Linked DNA regions of Homo sapiens: region 1 is linked to region 2. Evidence: promoter capture Hi-C in human tissues and cell types (Jung and others, 2019). All regions are on one chromosome and are shown on one strand. The core of a region is centred on a gene start or on the middle of the fragment in contact, and the rest is flanking DNA. Distances in the headings are between cores, read along the strand shown.

Region 1 (6,781 bases), core at 3,684-6,183, 69 kb before region 2:
GGGAGGTGTGTGCGGTTGTGATGATGAAGTGTGCACGGTGGCTGGGAGAGCTGGGAGGTGTGTGCGGTTGTGATGATGAAGTGTGCACGGTGGCTGGGAGAGCTGGGAGGTGTGTGCGGTTGTGATGATGAAGTGTGCACGGTGGCTGGGAGAGCTGGGAGGTGTGTGCGGTTGTGATGAAGTGTGCACGGTGGCTGGGAGAGCTGGGAGGTGTGTGCGGTTGTGATGATGAAGTGTGCACGGTCGCTGGGAGAGCTGGGAGGTGTGTGCAGTTGCGATGACGATGTGTGCACAGTGACGGCACTGCAAAATGTGACGGAGGCTCCGAGCAGGGGTTCCTAGGGGCCGGAGGCTGGGTCTACCCTGGTTGGGGCTGGCCCGGTGGAAGGAACGAGAAAGACAGTCTCAGGAACAGTGACGTGTGGAGATGGGAGGATGAGACACGCCCCCAGTACTGAAGGAGACCCTGGTGGTGGCAAAGGCGGGTTGGGACAGAATGTGGGAGGCTTTGAACATCAAGACACGAGTCTGGACTCATTTATAGTCAGTATTTTTTTATGAGTTAAACAAAAAGACGTGTGGCATTTTGGGGTCTGGACACTTTTAAATCAATGACTCCTAAGTGTTTACAAAGCAGGAAACAAGGTTTGAACCATGAGCTTCAGGAGCAGGACGGGCTCCTGGAGCCTGAAAGGAGCCCAGTCTCCCTCTCTGTGGGCGGCCGGATGCTCCTGACTTGGGTCAAGAGGGAGAGTCGTTCTCCTGGTCTCTATGCCGGGCTGTGACCACTGCCTGTCATTCAAGATGACCCTTTCGGGGTGTTGAGGACTGAGGCAGCTCTGGAATGTCACCCTACCTGTAACCTAACCTGCCCAGCTTCATGGGTGCTGGGAGGAGATATGGGGCTCTGAGGTCAGGGAGGGAGGACAGCTTGTTACAGCAGTGACAGTGGCTGTGAACCCGCAGGACCCCATGTCTACTCAGCCCCGTGAAGGGACCAGTGCTGCCGCACACACCATGAGTCAGGGTCATAGGAGAGCACCCCTGAGTCTTCTGCCACAGAGGAAGGCACTGCCTTTGCCTTCCAGGGCTGTATTTGCTTTCAGGCGTCCTTGAACAGGTAGGCCTGAACAAAGGGGAGGCCAGTGTCTCGCTACATGGGGTGTATGGAAAATGTGCCACCCGCAGAGAATTGCCTTCCAGTGGTGAATCGGTGGCAGCTGGCAGACCCAGCTGAGCTGTGCTGTGGGTAAGCCAGTGGTGGGAGAGGCCTCGCCCCTGGAAGCATGGTGCCCATGTGTTGCCGCCACGTCCCTGGGGTCTCTGGGCTGGAGTTCCAAAGTCGTCTTCATCATGAAGAAGCACATCCAGGCTATGGGCAGAACTGTCTTGAAGCCGTCCAGCTGTTTAAATTCTACATTCTGTGGGGCATGCACGGGGTTGGCTTATTCAACCTTCCTTCCATTCTCCCTGTGGTTGGAGAAGACAGAGAACAAAACAACTCATTTCCAAGATGCTTGGCAGCTGGGCAGAGTCCACCAACGAGAGGCACCCAAAGGCAATCCAAAAGACAGGCGGAAGAGGAGCGCATCTTGTTGCCATTGTGCCATGTTTGCTGGAAAGCACCGTTGTTGAGATGTGAGTATTTCTGCGTGATGTCCGTTCTTCAAACCCCAGACGCAGTTGGATGGCAGCGGATGGCAGCCGTGACCCCGCGGGCTCCCGGCTTCTGCTCCTGGTCCCCAGCTGGCTCAGGTGAATCCATGGTCAATGGCAGCCCCAGGAATGGCGGCCCCCATGATGGGTGGGCTTTACATTGTCCTGCAAGTAGTTTCTGGGAGCCACAGCCAAGTGAGAACTTGCTTCAACTTTCCAGTCACTTTCAGAGACACCAGCATTACCTCCTTTCCTGCTGAAGACACCTGGAGTGGCTTCCCTTCTCTGCCTCAAACCCTGACTGGTTCACATTCTTAGTTCATACCTTACTGTTGTTTACAAATCACCTGCAAACTCTTGGCCACAGTGCAGCGGGGGCGGGGCTGAGCACTCTGCTCCTAGGGTGTGGCCATCGTGGCTGAGCACTCTGCTCCCAGGGGGCGGTCAGGCAGGGGTCCGGGATGGAGAGAGGGCGGCCCCATTAGGGGCGATGAGATGCTCTCGAATCTGATTTGATCATCCCCACTCCTGCTCCTCAGCCCCCTGGAGCCGCATGTCTCCTTCAAGGCTGCTGTGATGTGGATTTTCACCTGGCGTCCATGGATAGCCACGTCCAGTGGGGAGGGGTGTGGGAGCAGGAGAGCCCCTCGGGGGCCCCACCCTCCTCCTGCGCACGTTGCTGCTGCTGGAATGGCAGGACACAAGCTGCTCCAGACTCAGTGAGCCCTCATTAGTGAGCTTTCTTCATGGGCTCAGGAAGATCTACGGCCCTTTGTCTACTTTTGAATAACAAGTTATCCCAAATGCAATGGCTTAAAGCACACATTATGGCACAGTTTATGGGGTCGGGAATCCAGGGCCTGTAGCTGGGCACCTCCTGCCCAGGGCTTCTCCTGAGGACAGCAAGCTGTGGCCAGGCCCAGGTCTCATCAGAAGGCTCAGCAGGAGAAGGATCCACTTCCACAGTGGGCTCCCACTGACTGTGGCCAGGTTCCTTGTCACCTGGGCTTTCCAGAGGGAAGCCATGGCCTGACAGCTGCCTGCCTTGGAGTACATAAGAGAGAGAGAAAGCATGAGAGGCCCTGAAATGGAAGCCACAGTTGTTTTGTGGCCTGAGGTTGGAAGCAATATTCCATCATGTTTCCATATTCCACGAGTTCAGTCCGTGCTCAAGGGGAGAGGATTACCGGGGAAGTAGATCCCAGGGGAAGGGGTGGCTGGGCTCATTTACGGCTGCCGACCACCCTGGACTTTGGGAAACAACGCAGCCCGTGTCTGGGTTTGCGGCATGGAGACTGCTGCGCGGTCACCAGGGCGGTTTGGATGGGTGGAGGCGGCAGACGGGACTGACCTGCCCCTGGAGGCTGTGGTGGAGTTACTGGCTGGAGTGGGGGCCCAGTGTGTCTGCGGGGAGGGAAGGCAGGGTGGCTGGGGAGTGCTGGAGTAGGGTCCCAGGGGCTGTGTGTCTGCGGGGAGGGGAGGCAGGGTGGCTGGGGAGTGCTGGCCATGGGCCTTGGGGGTGTCCGGGGAGTGCTGGTCATTGGGGAGTGCTGGACATGGGCCTTGGGTGTGGCCTTGAGCCCGGCCCCTGCAGAGGCGGTGCTCCCTGTGCTGGGCACTGCATGGGGCTGAAATGTCTTCCTGTGGCCACTGGATTCCTTGGACCAGCAGAACAAGCCTGGCCCTCGTGGCAGCTGCAGTTGCTTGTGCACACACACCCTGTGGGTCCTTTGCTGTCTCAGTACATGAGAAACACCCTGGACTCCCCCGTTTCTCGTTGGACGTAACTCTCAGTCCCAGCTGACTGCTGTTCTCCTTAACTCACAGCAGCCCCTCCTGGGACCAGCTCAGAGGTGCCTGGGAGAGGCAGTGCGGCTTCTAGACACCCTTCTTTGTAATCCAGCCACACGGGTTGTATTGGCCACGGAAGCCCCATCCACCGCTGAGGACTGGGCTTCCTGGGCTCGCTGCGGAGCCTCCCCCATCTGCCCCAGACACACCTGCCTCCTGCATGGTGGCCACTCTTGTCGGACTCTGTGCCTGTCCCCACATTTATTCTGTTAAACTTTTCTTTGCAGTACTCAGCCTGTTGTGCTGGGTCACTGTTCAGCTGATTAAAAATGGCAGCTTCCCTCAAAAGCAAATGTTATTGTAGCCCTTGGGTGTCAGAAAAGAGCAGGCAAACCCAACCTAAAGGCTCCTGGGCTTTCTGCAATTGTCCCCGTCGGCGTTCAGTAGGAACACGCATGGAGTGTGGGAGAACTGGATCGTGCAGGTGGGAGTTAAAGGCAAGAGGGGATCCAGGAACGCCGGGAAGCTGCTGCCTGGAGGGGGTGGGATGCTGGCAGGGGCTGAGCCTCCCCAGGACACAGCACCTTCGTCACTCTGACCACTGGGCCCCCTGCCCCACCTCTGACCACTGGACCTGAGTGGGGTGTGTCTCCATTCTGTGCCCATTGGCTCCTCCCTACTCCTCGCCAAGGGAGAGACCAGCCCCTCCCATCACAGGCTCCTTGGAGGGCTGGAATCCAGCTCAGCTTAGTTCAGCAAAAGACCATGAACCCTACTGTGTCCAGGTACAGGATCGAGGTGAGTCTAAACAGAACAGACCCCAGCGTTGAGACAGTGACAGTGAGCCTCTGTGAACACCTGCGGGTCCCCAGCCCAGCTTCTCACTGTGAAATCTTGAGGGGCAGCGGGAAAGTAGGGGCCGACCTTGCTCCAAGTCCCTAACAGGGAGCCCGCTTCCCTGAGGGTGAAGGCAGAGGGGCTCAGCTTGTGCGGGACCAGGGCGGGGAGAGCCCGGGGAGGGAGGGCGGGCGTGGCGGGCAGGGCACGGGGAGCGGACCTTGAGCGGCCGCCTGCCGCCCCCTCCATGGGGGGTGCAAGGGGTGGAAGCTGTGAGTGTGGACACGAGTGAAGCGGACGCAGGCAGGGCAGCCTCAGGCTCCTCGAAGGGGGCTTTCTGGTCAGAGTGGGAGGGGTCTGACATCTGTGGTTCTGTGGTCGCACAGCCTTTACCCAGTATTGAAAAGTAATGTTGCCTCGTGGGGAAACGGAAATGGCCAGCAAGGGTGGGTTCACCTCAGTCCTCCTCACCCGTTCACCTCAGTCTCCGCACCCCCATCCTGCTCTGTTCACCTCAGTCTCCTCACCCCCACCCTGCTCTGTTGTTCCCCTCGGTCTTTGAGACAGGACCAAACGCAGAGGCGGCGCTGGTGCAGCAGGGTCAAGGGGCAGCCTGGGCACCAGCCTCTCAGCCTCCCGGCTAGTCAGCCCCGAGCCGGTCCCAATCTGTCGGTGCTTCCTTGGGTCCTTCTCCAACCAGCGTCCTTTTCAGCAGCAACAGGGAGGCTGCAGAGGCTTCCGGGCTGTGGCAGGCTTGACCAACAGAGCCAGGGGCCAGAGTTGCGAGCGATCATAGCCACTGTCACTGAGAGGGCTTTCTGGGTCGCAGCCGCTGTCGCTGAGGAGGCTTTCTAGATTGTGGCCTCTGTCGCTGAGCGGGCTTTCTAGATGACAGCTGCTGTTGCCGAGGGAGCTTTCTAGATCATAGACACTGTTGCTGAGCGGGCTGTCTGGGTTGTAGCCACTGTCGCCAAATGGGCTGTCTAGATTGTAGTGTCTGTCGCCGAGCAGGCTTTCTAGGTGGTAGCCTCTGTCGCTGAGCGAGCTTTCTAGATTGTAGCCTCTGTCACCGAGGGGGCTTTCTGGATTGCAGCCTCTGTTGCCGAGCGGACTTTCTAGGCTCAGTCACAGGCCACATGCTCTGCGTTCGCTGCCTCCTCTGCTTCTGCCCGCTTCTCCAGGGCTCACCCATCCTGCAGATGAGGGGCCGAGGGCTCAGAGGGAAGGGCCCGCGTACGCTGGGTGCATCGCTGTGTACACAGATCCCGTGGTGAGGCACGGTCCCAGACCCCCGCTTGACCCCAAACCCCAGTCTTTACCCCCACCCAAAACCCCCAAGCCCCATGTCTCCCAAGCCCTTTCACAGTCTGCTCTGCCCACCGCCCCCACTCTCATGGCCTCTGGTGCAGCCACAGGGCCTTGGTAATGGGGGACTGTTGGGGGGCTATCTTTTCGGGGTCTCCTCTGTGGCCCCATCTGCCGGGGAGGAAAGGTCACGGGGGCCTGTGTGGGGCAAGGCAGCATGAAGGGCTTTGCTGTGGGGTCATGGGTCTGGGATGGGCTCTCGGCCACCCTGCGGCCTCCTGTCAGGTGTGCACAGCTGAGCCTGAACTTCCCGGACGAAGGAGGCTGCTATTCCCGGACCCGCCATAGAGAGGCAGTGCAGGACAGGGCTTGAGGTCCCGGCCCAGGCGCTGCAGCTTCTGGGCTCAGCCTGGGCTCTGTCCACTGACAGATCCTGGCTTCTCCGCCAATCCCCCTGTGTTTAGCGGGGTGAGGATGGGAGGGTGAGGTGATGGTCAATCCTCATGTCAACCTGGCTGGGCCATGGCACCCAGATATCTGGACAGACGCCCCTGGGACGCGGCTGTGAACAACTTTTTCTATGAAATTAATGTTAATTCAGGGGACTTTGAGAAAAGTCGTCTGGCTGTGGTGTGGGTGGGCCTCATCCACTCTGCGGAACGTCTTAAGAAAAAGACTGGGGTCCCCACAGAAGAGGGAATCCTGCCTGCAGAGAGCTCTGCACTTGAACGGCAGTGTCGACTCTCTCAGGTTCCCGACCAGTTCCTGAAAATCTCCCCCTCTGTGTGATGTGTGTGTGCGTGTGTGGGTGGTCCCACAGCTTCTGTCTCCTGGAGCCCCTCACCACTGCAGGCGTGGGGCTGCCCTTGGGGCTGGAGGGTGCGTGATGACCACAGGGTGGCGGTCGTGTGTCCTCACTGCCTGGTGCCGTCGCCTTCGGGTGGATGAGACGTGTGGCTCTGGGTCAGCCCCCAGAAGTGGCGGAGGGGTCCGTTGTTCTTATTATTAACTACCTCCTTCACTTCCTCAGACCTACTGTTTTCGACGTCTAAGTCAGCCCTCACCACCACCCCACGAGCTGAAAGATCTTGCCCCTGACTTTGAGACTTGAACCCTGGAACTCCCTTCCTGGAGCCTGCGTTGCCTGGGACAGGGGTGGCCAGGGTGAAATTGGCAGCACCTGGTTGCTCAC
Region 2 (6,807 bases), core at 881-3,380:
CATTACCATTCTTGCTGCACTTATGTAAATAATCAGACCAAATCTTGTAAGATGTGATATATTTTTGAGACAAGAATAGCATTACTTTGGTTATCTTGATCAAAAAAAGAGGGTGACCATAGAGCCATATTTTATGTTTTAATGAAAAATGGTAGCACACCCTTGTGAGTTATAACCCTGTGTATTCTACTTTTTTTTATCTTTTGATAAACTCCACCTTACTTTCTACTTTGTTATCTACCTGTAAACTGGACTGGATCCTGAAGCCTTTTAGAGTCCTTCAATGTTCCCAGGCTAACATTTCCAGTCTTTCTTCTGCCCTCCTGACTGGGTGTTAGTGAGAACTAAAGCCTGACAACTCAGGCCTTCCGTGGGACCATCTGGAAAGGCTGAAGCTGGACACATCCACGCTCTGCCCCCAGCATAACCATGACTGTGGCTCTGATGGTCATGATGTCACCAAGGACACACCCCCTGCAAACTAGGAAATCCATCCTTGCCCCATCGGCTGAAGATACCTTGAGCCCAAAATCCAGAAATCTTCTCAACAGACTGCCCTCTGGATTCGGAAACTGTGTTTCCAACTATAAATCTTTGTTTTTCTTCTCTTTTTCGTAGACATTCCCCTCATTAAATTCCCGACTACTTGTACCATCCAGCACACATCCTCCACCAGATGAAACATGGACTTATCTTGTTCAAAGAGAAAAGGAATGTCTCTTCTTTCTTGAACAAGAGGAGGGAATGAGAAAGCCTCGCTCCTTGACTTACCTCATGCCAGGCTCCTCTGAGTCTTCTCTTTGACTAGGCCTTGACCCTAGCTTCTGCTTTTGTCTGCTTTTCCCCATGTTTAGTAGGAATCCTGTGAAGTCTTTTAGTGGAAATCCCCTAGTCTTGGCCTGGTCACCCTTGATATCTGATCAAATTCCTCACCCTCCATCTTTGATTATTTTATTGCCTTGGCTTCCTTTCAGGTCTGGCCTCCTGTTTGGCCGAACACAATATACACAATAATTGAACTAGAGGGTGAATACATGGAGGTTCATGATATTCTTCCAAGTTAGAAATTTTCCATAATAAAAAGTTAAAATAAGTAACATATGCAACTCTCTCATGGATGTCTAGATTTTAAAAGGTCTTCAAAGATAGCAGACCTTTGTGTCCTGTTGCAAGGATAATCAATTTTTATTAAACTTATGCAAACAATTGTATGGTCCTGAAAATCATAATATCCAAATTCTAGAGTAATCAGGTGGGACAAAAAATATAAATGCTTCATTTTTGTTTATAAAAGCCCTCTTGGCCTTTGCTGAATCAGTTTAGCAAAGAATTCTCCTACCTTTTAGCAATGTTCATCCACTGACCCACCCTGATCCTTGGCTGCAAATCTCCACTTTCCCTGTATTTGGAGTTGAGCCCACTCTCCACTATTATGAGACACCATGGTAGTAGCCCCCTTTGAATAAAGGCTGCCTGCCCATCTTTAGCAAGCATCACAAATATTTTTTAACGGTATGAGCTGAGATAAAGGCTTTTGGTAATTATGTTAGTCTGATTATGACATTGTAGATAATGCTTTTATCTCTTCGCAAGAAAATGTTTTACATGAGGTGGTAAGGCATCTGGGATGGTGCTAAAATACTCCCCAAACAAGAAAAGTGTGTGTATGTGGTGTGGAGTGTGTATGTGTGTGTGTGTAGAAAAAAACAAAATATGCACAATAATTGAACCTGAGGGTGAATACACGAAGGTTCATGATATTCTTCCCAGTTAGAAATTTTCCATAATAAAAAGTTAAAATAAGTAACATTTGCAACTTTCCTATGGACATCTAGATTTTAAAAAGTCTTCAAAGATAGAAAGACTTTTCAGCTACATTCATTCCCCAAGGAATAAATGGTAAATTCATGTAGGTTGGGAATAAGAGGAACCCATGGGAGAAGAGGCCGCCGCTCCCCACCTGGTTCAGTTCTCTTTCTGCTGAGACATCCCTGTGGGGCCCTACCTGGAATCACGGTTCTCGGCCGGAGCTCAGTTTCTTGCCAACAGCACAGCAGGAGGACAAAGCAGAGGGTCCCGTCTCCTTGGCTCACTGCCATGCTCCCTCCAGCTGAGGGAGAAGGACGTTCTGAAGGTTGACAGTTTCCCATCCTTGGTCTCCAGGACACTGTGGAATGTCAGGACCTGTGACATCACAACCAGGAAGGGAGCTGGGGTCCTGCCCTGGTGGGGAGGTCATGTCCAGGGACCTGTGACATCAGGACCAGGAAGGGAGCTGGCATCTTGCCAGGGGCGGGGGGCAGGGTTTCTGTCCAGAGTCTGTGACTGGGAAGCAGGGAGGAGGCTCACTGGGGTCTTAAGGTAACAGAGATCCTCTCCACTCTTTCTTATTGCCTGTTCTGGTGACTTCCTCTGTCCTGAGCACCCTGAGGACTCAAGGGGTAGATACTAATCAGGACTTAAGGGCCAGTGGCCAAAAGCCAACAAAATCTGCTCCCATGGAAAGAGGCGTATTTGAAGGATGCTGGAGAGGTGGTTGAATTACAGAGCAAGTGCCAGAACCGACAGATCCAGAGGGTCTAATCACCTCTTAAAGGTCCCTTGAAGAACAGAGCCTTGAAGAACAGAGGCCCGTGGCCCCATGTCCCCTCCCACCCTCCCCCACCCTCAAAGTTCCAGGATCATGAAGAACAGGAGACAGATGACCCAGGTTTCAGCCTCCTTTCCCCCACACCTTCTTTCTCAGCATCAGCCCCAATCTTTCCCTGGCAGTGAGACTTTAATCACGAGAGGAGAACATGGCTGCATTTCCATGTTATCATCCTCCCAGCTCTATCTCCTAGACTTTCTAGAGCTTTCTCCATCCGTGCAGTGACAAAACCCCAAAGGAGTCACTCTGGTTGGCTCCCCTGGATCCTATCTCACCCCTGGACTGACTCCTACATCCAGGGCTCAGAGTGGGGCAGCTGGTCTAGACTCGGCCGGTGGTGGGGTCCCAGGTGAACAGCCCTCAGATCCCAGCTCCATGGTGGAGAGGGCTGGTGTGTTTGTCTGTTCCCACACTGCTATATAGAACTTCCCTGAGACTGGGTAATTTATAAAGAAAAGAGATTTAATTGACTCACAGTTCTGCATGGCTGGGGAGGCCTCAGGAAACTTACAATCATGACGGAAGGGGAAGCAGGCACCTTCTTCACAAGGCGGCAGGAGAGAGAGTACATGAAGGAGGAGCTGTTAAACACTTATAAAACCATCAGCTCTAGTGAGAACTCACTTATCATGAGAACAGCATGCAGGAATCCACTCCCATGATCAGATCGCCTCCCACCAAGTCCCTCCCTCAACACGTGGGATTATGAGGATTATAATTCAAGATGATGCTTGGGTGAGGACACAGAGCCAAACCATATCACTGGGGCCCTGGACGCACAAGACTAACAATGCCCCCGAGGTCTGGTCAGGACCCCAAGGATGGCTGACCCACCATGGGTCTCTGGCTCTTTAATTTTTATTGCTTGTATGGGAACCCACAGCACATTTTTGCTCAGGTTTTCCTTTTGATAGATGCAGTGGTAGCCAATCTACCTCAAGGTGTGGGGAGTATATTTCAGATTTTCAGCGTGTCCATAAAGGCACACTAAGCATGGTTGACATTTACAGAAACCCAGTGGGTTCCAAGTCCCACTCTGAGTTAATGAATGGTCCAAGTGAGATGCTTGCTTCTATAACCCAGGCTCTTGCTACTCAGAATGTCATTTTGGGGCCAGCAGCATGGGCCTAAGAGGCTGAATGTACAAACGGACAGCAGCCAGAGCTCCCATGACAGCAGAACCCTGCACTGCTGCCTGTCGAACGACACCCACTGCACCAAGGAGGGATGTCTGGCTAAGGCAGGCCAGGGACTTCCACCTCAAGGCGGAGGATGAGGAATTTGATCAGGGCTGGGGGCGAGGCCTCGTTGAGAAGAGGGGTCAGAGGAGCCTCGCTGATTTGGTCGAGGAAGGAGTCATTCTCAAGGCTGCCCGAAGCTCGGTGACTTGATACAGCCCATGTGTGATTGCTTACAACTTTGTGGGTTGGCTCTGGGGGCTGCTGGCCTAGTGTGGCCTCATGGACATGTCTGAGGCCTTAGCTAGGATGCTGGGGCTTGGGATGGCTGAGGCTTCCCTCCATGTGGTCTCTCGGCCTCTAGCAGGCAGCCTGGGCTTGGTCACAGCAGAAAGGAGAGTAAGCCTCGATGCAAACAAGCCTTTTCTTGCACCACATTTGCTAATGTCTCATCGGCCAAATGAGTCAAACTAATCCCAGATGCAGGAGTGGAGGAACAGATTTGAGCACTAAAATATGGTAGTCAGAGGCCGGGCGCGGTAGCTCACGCCTGTAATCCCAGCACTTTGGGAGGCCGAGGTGGGCGGATCACGAGGTCAGGAGATCAAGACCATCCTGGCTAACACGGTGAAACCCCGTCTCTACTAAAAATACAAAAAAATTAACTGGGTGGGCACCTGTAGTCCCAGCTACTCGGGAGGCTGAGGCAGGAGAATGGCATGAACCTGGGAGGCGGAGCTTGCAGTGAGCGGAGATCGCGCCACTGCACTCCAGCCTGGGTGACAGAGCAAGACTCTGTCTAAAAAATATATATGGTAGTCAGACTGGCTTAGTTCACAGAGCTCTGCCCCCCGCGTTTCATAGATTTGCTTAGCTAATTGGAAAGAAGAGGTTAGAGTGTCTGGTATGTGTTTTTAATCAGTTGCTTTATGAGATTCTAGTTTGAAGAATCTCTCACCAACCCTTGGGAGGTTGATGGCAAATTTATTTTTCTTATTCTTTGCTGTCTTTTAGCAACAATTTTACACATAATTCCCTTTGCATTTGTATTTGCATGCAACATTAAAACCAGAAGGGAATTTAACAAATTAATCTATTTATACCAGTTTCTTTGAATGGGGACTTTAATTCATTTGCATAACTGTCATAGCAGCAGCATATGACTCCTAGAAGTTTTTTCTCCATGGTTGCATTTCAGTTGAGAGATTGTTTCTGTCATATACCAATAGAGATTTGTTTCCTGCATCTTCCAGGGGAAAGAGGAAAGAACTCTTTATGGCTCTTTTAAAATAAACAGGCTTTCCTTATTTTTTTAATTTTTGGAAATGTAAAAATTTTAAAAATTAAAAGAAAAATGCAAGGCTAGGTCCAGTGGCTCACACCTGTTATCCCAGCACTTTGTGAGGCTGAGGTGGGTGGATCGCTTGAGCCTAGGAGTTTGAAACCAGCCTGGGCAACAGAGCAAAACGTCATCTCTACAAAGAATACAAAAATTAGCCAGGCATGGTGGTAAATGTCTGCAGTCCCATCTACTTGGAAGGCTAAGGTAGGAGCATCACCTGACCTTGGGGAGGCAGAGGCTGTAGTGAGCCGTGATTGTGTCACTGCATTCTAGACTGGGTAGCAGATCGAGACTCCATCTCAAAAAAAAAAAAAAAAAAAAAAACTGGGTGCGGTGGCTCACACCTGTAATCCCAGCACTTTAGGAGGCCGAGGCGGGTGGATCACCTGAGGTCAGGAGTTCGAGACCAGCCTGACCAATAAGGTGAAACCCTGTATCTACTAAAAATACGAAAATTAGCTGGGTGTGGTGGCATGCACCTGTAGTCTCAGCTACTTAGAAGGCCGAGGTAGGAGGATCACCTGACCTTGGGGAGACAGAGACTGTAGTGAGCTGTGATTATGCCACTGCACTCTAGCCCGGGCAACAGAGTGAGACCCCATCTCACAAAAACAAAACAAAACAAAACAAGAAAAATGCAAACATACTTAGTTCCATTGTACAAAATTAACACTGTTAGCATCTTAGAATATTTGCCTTTGATGTTTTTAATTTTTGAAAAATCATGGTTTTGTTTTTATAAATACGCTAATAATACATACTCACTATAGAGAACTTAAGCAATGAAACGACAAAAACGTGAAAATTAAAAAATGACCCCAGTTGTCCCGCAGCCACGACCACCATGAATATCAGGTTAACATCGTGGCAGACACCTCTTCATCTATGTTTACGTGCACAGGCTGGTGGGCGCGTGGAGAGATAGACATGGTGTGAGGAGCTCTTCTGTGGACGCAAACACCTGTGGGGTAATAACATAAGGTAATAAAGGTGGGAACACACCACCTCACTCCTGCAACAAAAGTAATTCTTCAAATTTACTCAGATTTAATGGAGGGAAAAAAACCTGAAGAACAACTGAAGGAATTGATGAACGTCCAGTATTTCCTCTCTCTCAGTCATTGCTCACAGGAGAGGAGGGGAGACTCTGGGGAAAAACTTAGGTATTTGGAGTCAATGCATTTTTTTTTTAAACGTGCAAGTTTCACTTTTCCACAGGAACAGCCGACTTCCTGATCTGAAATACGAGGACGGCTTCACTCTCCCTTCCTCTCACTTCCTTTCTTTTGATTCAATGTTAATTGGCCATGAACTTCTTATTTCCCCTAAGAAGAGCTCAGAGATGTTCTATCCCAGGACATCTTCAGACCTGAGAACTTAGGTTGTTGGCTTTAGAATCTAACAGTGACTTGTGGGGGAACAAGATTCACGGGCCAGCCCTCCTTCCCTAAGAGTTGTTACAGTTTCCCCGTTGCAGATCCTGAGTGCTGTGTGGAGCGCTCTGTGGACCACCTGACATGGACCCCCTCTTGCAGATGATCTGCTCTGGCTGTGTGAAGACCCGAGTTATTCTTTCTTTATCTTGAAATTAAGCAGCAGAATTAGGATTTGCCTTGGCATTTCTGTTCTCTGTTAAA

The links. The method cuts DNA at HindIII sites, captures the fragments that hold promoters and counts their contacts. A contact is called where the count stands out against the background at its distance.
Region 1: a contact is called between a fragment that was not itself captured here and the fragment with the promoter of SPACA7 in region 2, in 3 of the 25 tissues and cell types used here (dorsolateral prefrontal cortex, spleen and thymus).

Annotation. Positions count from the first base shown.
Region 1 is chr13:112,443,324-112,450,104 of GRCh38, reverse strand. The region is part of intron 2 of LOC105370372 (a long non-coding RNA gene); the gene reads left to right. Among named protein-coding and RNA genes, the nearest start is that of SPACA7, 70 kb to the right of the region's middle. The HindIII fragment of the contact is 6,990 bases long and covers 1,439-6,781 here.
Region 2 is chr13:112,371,678-112,378,484 of GRCh38, reverse strand. SPACA7 (sperm acrosome associated 7) reads right to left here and starts at 2,130. Exons shown (of 7, transcript NM_145248.5): 1 at 2,006-2,130. The coding sequence starts at 2,099. LOC105370373 (a long non-coding RNA gene) reads left to right here and starts at 2,207. Exons shown (of 3, transcript XR_944295.3): 1 at 2,207-2,361; 2 at 6,072-6,151. RefSeq lists an enhancer at 1-678. The HindIII fragment of the contact is 14,702 bases long and covers 1-6,807 here.